Linked DNA regions of Homo sapiens: region 2 is linked to region 1. The links are contacts of gene promoters, found by promoter capture Hi-C in human tissues and cell types (Jung and others, 2019). All regions are on one chromosome and are shown on one strand. The core of a region is centred on a gene start or on the middle of the fragment in contact, and the rest is flanking DNA. Distances in the headings are between cores, read along the strand shown. Region 1 holds the start of CHSY1 (chondroitin sulfate synthase 1). Region 2 overlaps LINC02348 (long intergenic non-protein coding RNA 2348).

What was found. Contacts are between HindIII fragments. The study calls those that stand out against the background at their distance.
Region 2: a fragment that was not itself captured here is called in contact with the fragment with the promoter of CHSY1 in region 1 in 1 of the 25 tissues and cell types used here (neural progenitor cells).

What each region holds. Positions count from the first base shown.
Region 1 is chr15:101,249,638-101,253,839 of GRCh38, forward strand. CHSY1 (chondroitin sulfate synthase 1) reads right to left here and starts at 2,411. Exons shown (of 3, transcript NM_014918.5): 1 at 1,500-2,411. The coding sequence starts at 1,819. RefSeq lists silencers at 1,396-1,825, 2,016-2,325, 2,496-2,875. The HindIII fragment of the contact is 14,328 bases long and covers 713-4,202 here.
Region 2 is chr15:101,607,468-101,612,183 of GRCh38, forward strand. All of the region lies in intron 2 of LINC02348 (long intergenic non-protein coding RNA 2348), which reads right to left. Among named protein-coding and RNA genes, the nearest start is that of LINC02348, 4.5 kb to the right of the region's middle. The HindIII fragment of the contact is 4,177 bases long and covers 1,233-4,716 here.

The sequences.
Region 1 (4,202 bases), core at 1,161-3,660:
TGAGTGGCTGGGACTACAGGTGCACGCCACCACACCCGGCTAATTTTTGTACTCTTGAGTAGAGACGGGGTTTCACCATATTGGTCAGGCTGGTGTCGAACTCCTGACCTCAGGCGATCCGCCCGCCTCGGCCTCCCAAAGTGCTAGAATTACAGGCGTGAGCCACGGCGCCCCGCCTGCATTAGTCTGTATTTACAATACCTGCATTCTAAGCTTTTCAAGCCACTCAGGACCCTTCCTGGCGGAATGTGGGTTCTGGACTTAAGCAGGACCCTAATGGAAATGTGCAGGAATGGGGATCAAGCCATTCAAGGGGCAGTCACTGAAGACCACTTTCACCTTCTTTCTCAGTCCTTTACTTTCTCCCTTAAAGGCAAGGGAGACCATATATGCTTTTCCCCTCACAACATCTAGTGCCTGAAAAATCTGACCAAGACTGCATTTAAAAACTGAAGTGTAAAGGTATTGGTTATAAGAACAAACAGCAACCAGCTTAGCCTGGCTCAGCACTGGCTGCTCTGAAATTTCATTACCAGACAACTGATGCTCTAAAACCATTCCCCACATTGGTTTGCTCTGTGGCTGGATAAGACCCAAACTTTATCCATACAGTAAGTGTCTCTATACTTCACACATATAGGGTTTCCATCAAATCCCTTTATCGAGTCTACAACCCTCTCCAACTTCAAATTCACTCCAATACAAATCTGATTCTAACCATGCCAGCCATTCCAAAATCATCTCCCTTCTAGAGACTACATTGGCTAATCCCTTTGTTAAACCTGAACACAATTCCAGCTGCTTTTATGACTCATTTGGCCAACTAGAGCCCAGTTACTGGATAACATGCATACACCACCAAGCTGAACTAATTAACACCAGAATGCAGTTTTCCACTGAATCTACCAAGGGCCAAGAACTGCTTTTCCCCAAGGTTCTCTCTCTCTGTACTCAACAGACTGGTGTGGTCCAATATGCTGCGGGCATTCTCTTTCATTTATAGGAGTGCCTCCAACTGCGAAATGTGAGAGTATGATGTGGAAAGGTTCTAGAACTAGATTAACGTACACGGGCTCCAGCTTTGCAAGGACAAAGGTGCACATTTTAGGGAATCCAGTATCAGCCCCAACTGCCTCCACTATCAGGTACTGTGCTATGAGTTTTCCAACATTATGAGGGAGACCCGATCTGTCGGGCCCTTCTAACGAGAAGCTTCGATTTGCAAAGGCTAAAGTGCCTTCATCAGGGTGAGAGGTACACCCAGCGAGGCCACACTAGTCCATCTGACCCCAAAGGCCATGTTCCTGAGCGCCGCGCTCACCATCCCGCCTCTGATCTTTTCTCCCTCGGCCCGGCGTCTCCCGAGAGGCAACCCGATCCCGCCGGAAGCCCAAGAAGGGCCTAGGAAGCGGGCGGAGGCGAGAGCCAGGAGAGCACCCGGGATGCCGGCCGCCGGGATGCCGGACGCAGGAGGCGGTGCCCGGGGAGCAGGGGCTCACCTGTAGGCGGCCACGGCCCGAGTCTGCAGGTATTTCTGGGCGGTCATGACTCCCACGAAGAGAAAGTTCCTGTCGCGCGGGCCGCCATCTGGGTCCGAGCCGGGCGGCCAGAGCTGCGCCCCGCGCGCATCGCCGCGCGCCCCGCCGGCCTGGGAAGCCGCCGCCTGCCCGGACCGGCAGCCCTCGGGGCTGGCGCGGCGCCGTGGGCCCGCTCGCTTCAGCTCGGAAGCCCGGGGCAGGACGAGCCGCGAGGCCAGCACGAAGCCCAGGACGAGCCCGAGCAGCACGCTGAGCCAGGCGCGCCGGCCGCGCGCGGCCATGCCCGCGCCGCTCCGCCCGCCGGGCCGCCGCCGCAGGCTCCGCGCGCCCTCAGCCCGCTGCCCCCGCCCGCGGAGGCCAGCCCGCCCTAGCGCCGCGAGGCCCGGCCCGGGCAGCGCCGCCGCCGCCGCGGGCCCGCCGCGCCCATCGCGGCCCCCGAGCCGCCCGCAGGCCCCGCGCCGGCGCTTTGTTCCGCACGCCCGCCCCCGCCGCCGCGGCCTGCGCCTTTAAGAGGGGACCATGCCCGGCGCGCGCTAGCGGCGGCTCGGGCGCGAGGTGGCGGCGGCTCCTCCCGCTCGCGCGCGGGGACGCGGGGCCGGCACGACGGCGACGACGGCGGCGGCAGACGAGTCCGGGCTCCCGTCCCGCCCTGCCCGCGTCCTCCGGCTGGCTGGGCTCGGTTCGCACGGCGCCTGTCCCCGTCCTCTTCGTAGCCGGCGCCGCCGCCGCAGCTGCACATCCTCCGGCTTAGCTCGCCATTGCAACAGGAGCCCCTCACGTCACGCACGGCGCGTTATGAAGTGGCCCCGCCGGCGGCGAGCCGTGGCCCCTCTCGGGATCCGTCCGCGCCGCGCGATTGGCGCAAAAGTGAATGAGGGGCGGTTCACGTGGCCGAAGTTTGACCAAAAAAAAAAAAAGCCCTCTCGGGCGCCCCGCCCGCGCGGTCTGCGACTGGAGCTGGCGGGCGGAGGGGGCGTGGGCCCCCGCCCGGCGCCCGCGGGGCCGGAGCTGCCCGTGATCCGCACCTAGCACCCGGCGCAAGGGCGTCCCCGCGAGGACGGCCGCTTCCCGCACCGCGGCGCCCGGGCGCGAATCTCGGGAGCCAGCCTTGCAGTGGGGGCTTCTCGGCCCCCAGACTCCACGCTGCGCACGTTCCTCCCGCACGGGCCGTCCTCGCTGCACCCCACGGCCACGCCCTTCCTGCCGCCGGGCCGGCCCCGCGCTCCCGGCCCCGCGCTCCCGACCACACTGCAGCTTTGTCCGCAGTCCCGCGGCCGCACGCAGGGAACAGCCGTCCCGGAGCCCTGGGGACGTGCGCGCCTGCGAGTGGACCGTGAATTCAGTTACCTTGTTCCCTGTTGCTAGTTTCTACGCTAAATAAGAAGAAGAAGAAGAAAAAGCCATCTTTAATACTTAAGGTCCACGCTTCTCATACAGTACTAGCATTTAATGGATCTCGAAGACAAGGAAAATGAAGTTAATGCCCTGGATGGTAAACCCTACTTTCATTTACATACTGTGTGGGCAGATAGCCGGCTAGTACCCCCAGCCTGGGACTTTGTCCCTACTTTAATATAGTCCGTCTGTAAAAGTGCCGTGGATTTCTAAAGACGGATTTTGGGTCCCAGATCCTCTACTCTGGATTTTAAGTTTTATACATTTCCTCTGCAATACTTCAGCTAAGGCAGCAAAAGCGGAGGTCTCCATACAACGAAAGTTTGTGTAGAGTTTCAGTCTTGTTACTTAGTCACCAGTATATTGGGGTTTTCTAATGAAACTTTTGAAGGGCAAAGTGTTTCCCTGGGCCTGAGAAGTTACCTGCATTGAATCAAATAAACACATGCCTGGGGCAATCCTTGGATCTTTCTTCATTGTTGACCAAATGGTTGAAATACTATCACACAGTTTAAAATGCCTGTGGGAGCTTCAGATACCTTCTCGGCACCTGAATGGTGGTCACTCTTGTTTATTCTTTGGATATTACCACTTTCTTTGACACTTGTGATTTATATTAAAAATAGTTCATTACCTACCTTCCCACAGAGCCCCTCCCTAAGGGGTGATCCACATCTAAAAATAAAATACTCATTATGCAGTGAATACAGGATTCCAGCAGTGGTCTTGGGAAAAATACAGAACATACAACCATGAATTACAGGCTCGAAAACCATCGAAAAAGGTTTCCACTAAGACCATAAACCACAAATGCCGAGGAGTCACCAGATCCCCCAAATTCAGCAGCCCCATCATTCACAGTGATTTACATGAAGTACGAATCTGGCCAGATTCAGATGTTCAATTTTGTAGCATATTCAACGATTTCAGTATTTTCTAACCTGCTTTAGACTTACCTAGTTTTCTTCGAAACTAGTGTCCAGTGAAAAGCTGGCCGGGCGCGGTGGCTCACGCCTGTAAACCCAGCACTCTGGGAGGCTGAGGCGGGCGGATCGCCTGAGGTCAGGAGTTCGAGACCAACCTGACCAACATGGAGAAACCCCGACTCTACTAAAAATACAAAATTAGCCGGGGGTGGTGGTGCATGCCTGTAATCCCAGCTACTCGGGAGGCTGAGGCAGGAGAATCGCTTGAACCCGGGAGGTGGAGGTTGCTGTGAGCCGAGATCGTGCCATTGCATTGCACTGCAGCCTGGGCGACAACAGCGAA
Region 2 (4,716 bases), core at 2,071-4,570, 360 kb after region 1:
TCCTTGCTGAATCAATCAGGCCACAGTTTTTAAGCACTGGAAGAATAAATCCTCAATTTTTTTGCTTGTCACAATATAGGGGTGCATCAGTGTAGTAGGTTAAATAATGGCCCTCAAATAATATACGCAGATCTGAATCTATGAAGCCTGCAAATGTATCTTATGTGGCAAAAGGGACTTTGCAGATGTGATTGAGTTGAGGATCTTGAGAAGGAGACATTATCCTGGATTACATGGGTGGGTCCCAAATGCAATCACAAATGTCCTGATAAGAGAGGATAGAGGGAAATCTGACATAGAAGAGAAGGCCATGAGAAGACAGCGTGGAGAGAATTTTGAAGACGCTAAGCCACTGCCTTTGAAGGCGGAGGAAGGGGCCACGAGCCAAGGAATGCAGCTCTAGAAGCTGGAAAAGGCAAGGAAACAGACCCCCCTGGAGCCTCTGGAGGGAGCGGCCCTCATGGCACCCTGATTCCATCCTGCTGAAACTGATTTGGGACTTCTGACCTCCAAAACTGTAAGAGAACAAATGTGCCTTGTTGTAAGCACCAGGTTTTTGGTAATTTGTTACAGCAGCCACAGGAAACTCACACAGGCAGTTTTTAATCTATTGCATCTCAGCTCTGAATGCACCTTTCAATATGTGCTTTAGGACAAAGATTGGAACCTTTTAACCATTTTGAATTTAAAGTGAACAGGATGTGAAGCTTTCTCAGTAGACGGTGCTGGAAGGACTTTCCTGTAATTTCCAGGAAGGTCAGCCAAGCGGAGACTATCCCGTGGAGTCGGACGGAGCCTCAGAGCCAGAACACAATGACTCTGTGGCCATGCCTGGCGGTGACTGTCTACACAGCAGCTGGCCTCCGACCTCACTACGCAGCCTGCCACTTCCTCTGCAACCTCTCCACCCGCCAAGCAACCTCAGCACCCAGAAGGCCTTCTGCCCTGGGGGCACTCAGTTTCCCACTGCAGTTCACGCCTTTGGTTACTAATCACCTGTTCCCTGCCTGCCCTCCAGAGGGTGCCTATTGTGTGTCCACCAACTCCAAACCAGCTGTAGCTGTGTGCTCTGGGCTAAACTTCATTGCTATCCAGTGGCTGAACCACACCCTCTCCAGCTATGTCTGAACCCCAAACAACTTCATTTTTACTTTGGGAGCTCCCTCAGCCCTAGGATACTGCATAGAGCTTCTTTTTATCTTACTCTTTTTTTTTGAGACAGAGTCTTGCTCTGTTGCCCAGGCTGGAGTGCAGGGGTATGATCTCGGCTCACTGCAACCTCTGCCTCCTGGGTTCAAGCGATTCTCCTGCCTCACCCTCCCGAGTAGCTGGGATTACAGGCACCTGCCACCAGGCCTGGCTAATTTTTGTATTTTTAGTACAGATGGGGTTTCACTGTGTTGGTCAGCCTGGTCTCGAACTCCTGACCTCATGATTCGCCCACCTCGGCCTCCCAAAGTGCTAGGATTACAGGCATAAGCCACCGCGCCCGGCCTATCTTACTGTTTTACAACTGTTAATAATTTTAACTTAAATTTCCCCTGTTTAACCTGCTGTGTGATTTCTGTCTCCCGATTAGAGCCAGACTGCTACAAATGGCCCCAGACATGACCCACTTATAAGTTGAATCTGTACTATTAACAATTTTTTATTACTTTCTTAAGCCTAGAAAATCAACAAAACAATAACACAAGCTCTGATTTGCAGTGTTTGCCAACTTCCATGGTGTAAATACTCCTATCATGGCCAATCCCAAGCTTTCAATGTGACGTCACAGATTGTGGGCTTGGGAAGAGATGCCCAGTAGCTGTCACTATATACTCTTCCCACGGCATTGATATAATAGATGCAAGTAACCCTCAAAGCATAGAAAATAGCAAAAGTAGTAAAACTCATTGGGAAGGGGTGTTTGTTAACATATTTGATTATAAGTTCATATGATTAATTGTGAATAATGCCTATATTTACAACTGGCTCACAAAATCTGAGCACATTTAACGCTTGGTTCTATTGAATGTTACAAGCCAGCTCCAGCACAGCACTGGGATTAAGGGCCCCCAGCAACAAACCAGGGGGAGCTCCGCATTCTTTGGGCAATTGCTGGCCCCCTCTGGCATCAAGACAGGTCTCCGGTTCAGCCTGTGGCATTGAGATGGGGCGGTGGAGGGGGGACAGAGGAGAGGGTGCAGGCAAGAGTTTCTCTGTTGCAGGATTCACTCAGGACCTCCCATTGCTCCTGTTTTCTGCCCTGACGTTGATGCCCCTTCATGTCCTGGCCCGAGGATGGAGGCAGCAGCCTTCCCCTGGACCCTTTCCGGCACGGTCAGACCTGCCGTTTGCCATGCATCTGAGAGTCCTTGAGGTCATGGCAGCCGCTCTTTTGCCCCCACTTGAGGTCATTGAAGGAGAGTGAGGGAATGGCTGTAGGTATGGTGGTCAGCGAGTCAGGAGTCTAGTCCCGACCTTACTCCTGGCTGGTGGAAAGACTGGGGGCCAGTCGGTCACGCTCCCAGGCCTGAGGCCCCACCTGTGCGGTGAGGGTGGGCCTGATGCCACTCTGAGGACTGATGACCCTGAGGCTTCTTCCAGCTCCAGGATGAAGTCCTGCCTCACGTCCACCTTAATGGCAGGCACAGTGATGCCACCTCCCAGGATCTGGCAGCTGCAGGGGCATCAGCAGGTGCTGCGGTCCTGCTGGGATAGCCTATCCCTGGGAACTGGCCCCAGACGCTGATCTCAGGACCTGCCATCAGATAGCTCAGCCTTCGCCAAGAGAAAACAAAATGCAGGCAGGTCATCTGATCTTCCTTTTCCACTTTCCCAGGGACCAACTAGCCTTTATAATAAAACCCAGAGGAGACAGTCCCTTCCCAGAGATAAAACCCTTCCCAAGCCGTCCCTGCTACTAGGGCAACGCTGGGCGCTGCGCGGCTGGCAGGGAGCCCCAAGAGCTCTCTGCCAAGGGGGCTGGGCTGGTGGGGCCGAGGTCCCAGAGGCTGCCTGCCCAGAGCCTGTGCTAATGAGGGAAGAGGGCTACACTCCGCTTTGGAGCACCTCTCAACAGAGGGGACACCTTGGGGTCGGGGGTCAGCATGACGGATGTCTTCAAGGTTCAGTGTGCAGACAGGACCAACCTCTCCCACAAGCAAGATGCTAAGGGAAGACCCCAGAAACAGCAAGTGCAGGACATGTGAGTATGGGGGTGATGCAGAGAGCCTCACAGTACCCAAGGACAGGGTCGGAAAGACCTGAGGTGAGTGGACCGCCCTGGCCTGGGAGGCAGCCTGTAGACTGTGGGGCCAGTGACGGTCCCCTCCTCCCAGGCGCAGTCCTCCCCTTCCTGCGTCACCCTCTGCACACCCCTCTCCATTCCTGCTGTCATGCTCGGGCCAACGTCCCAGGTCTAACTAGTGAAGCCTTTGCAAGCTCCACGCTGCACTCTTAGAGAGATCCTACTCAAAAGCAGGGCTCAGAGTGGACTTTCTTAGAAGAGACTCTCTTTTCTCTGACTGCCCTTCACCAGTGCCCTACCCAAGGCTGCCCCCGCCCTGCCCCCACTTGCTCATTTTATCACCTGCCCCTCCTCCCCACTGTTCCTCCAGGCCTCAACCAAAGGCCCTCCTTCGGGTCATCCTTTCTTCCTTAAAACAGCGTCTGATGTCTGACCTAGTTCAAGAAAGCCGTGGCTCAGTGTCCGAGGAGCCCCGTCTGCAGTCTGCCCTGGCCACGCCTAGCTGCATCTCCCTGTGCTTAAACAAAGTGTCGCTAAGTCGGGAATTCATGGGCCTGTTAGCAGCGGCTTGGCTTCCACATGTCCCCTTTCATGGTCTCACTAGTGAAAGGTAGATGAAAGAGCTGGGCGTGGTGGCTCACGCCTGTAATCCCAGCGCTTTGGGAGGCCGAGGTGGGTGGATCACAAAGTCAGGAGATCGAGACCATCCTGGCCAACATGGTGAAACCCTGTCTCTACTAAAATACAAAAGATTAGCCGGGCATGGTGGTGAGCACCTGTACTCGGGAGGCTGAGGCAGGGGAATTGCTTGAACCCGGGAGGCGGAGGTTGCAGTGAGCAGAGATTGCACTACTGCACTCCAGCCTGGCCAAAGAGCAAGACTCCATCTCAAAAAAAAAAAAAAAGGTAGATGAGAGAAGAATAAAGCATAAAGCTAAGGTCTAACTTGCTAGGTTATTCAGGAGGGAGAGAGGACAGAAATTACAAATAAATATTGATATGTATACATACACCCGTACTGTAGATAGGTGTATGTGTATATATGTGCAAATGACTGTATATTATGCATACACATGTGTGTATGTGTGTGTGCACATGGTATAAATGTGTGTATATGTACATATGTATTTATACACACATGTATCAACTCCCATAAATGCACAAGGCTCAGCCTGACCTGTCATTTAACCAAACACCAGACAGTGCCTTCCCAGAACATTCTACCCTCAAGGCAGAGTGCCTCCGTGACACGCAAGGCAGGGGGCCAGCTGCAGGCGCCAGGCCAACAGGATGAATGTCTCAGGTTTTCACGCCCCTGGTGGCAGGGCAGGCCACTGTGGGCCTGCTCTCTTCTCATCTTGCTGTCACTTTAGTGTCCTTGAGGTGCTGAGGACTCTCAGTTTGTATGTCCAGCCCAACAGCTCCTGGGCTCTAGACCCAGAGACTCAGCACTGCTCGATACGGGTCCCGGGCCCACAAGTCCC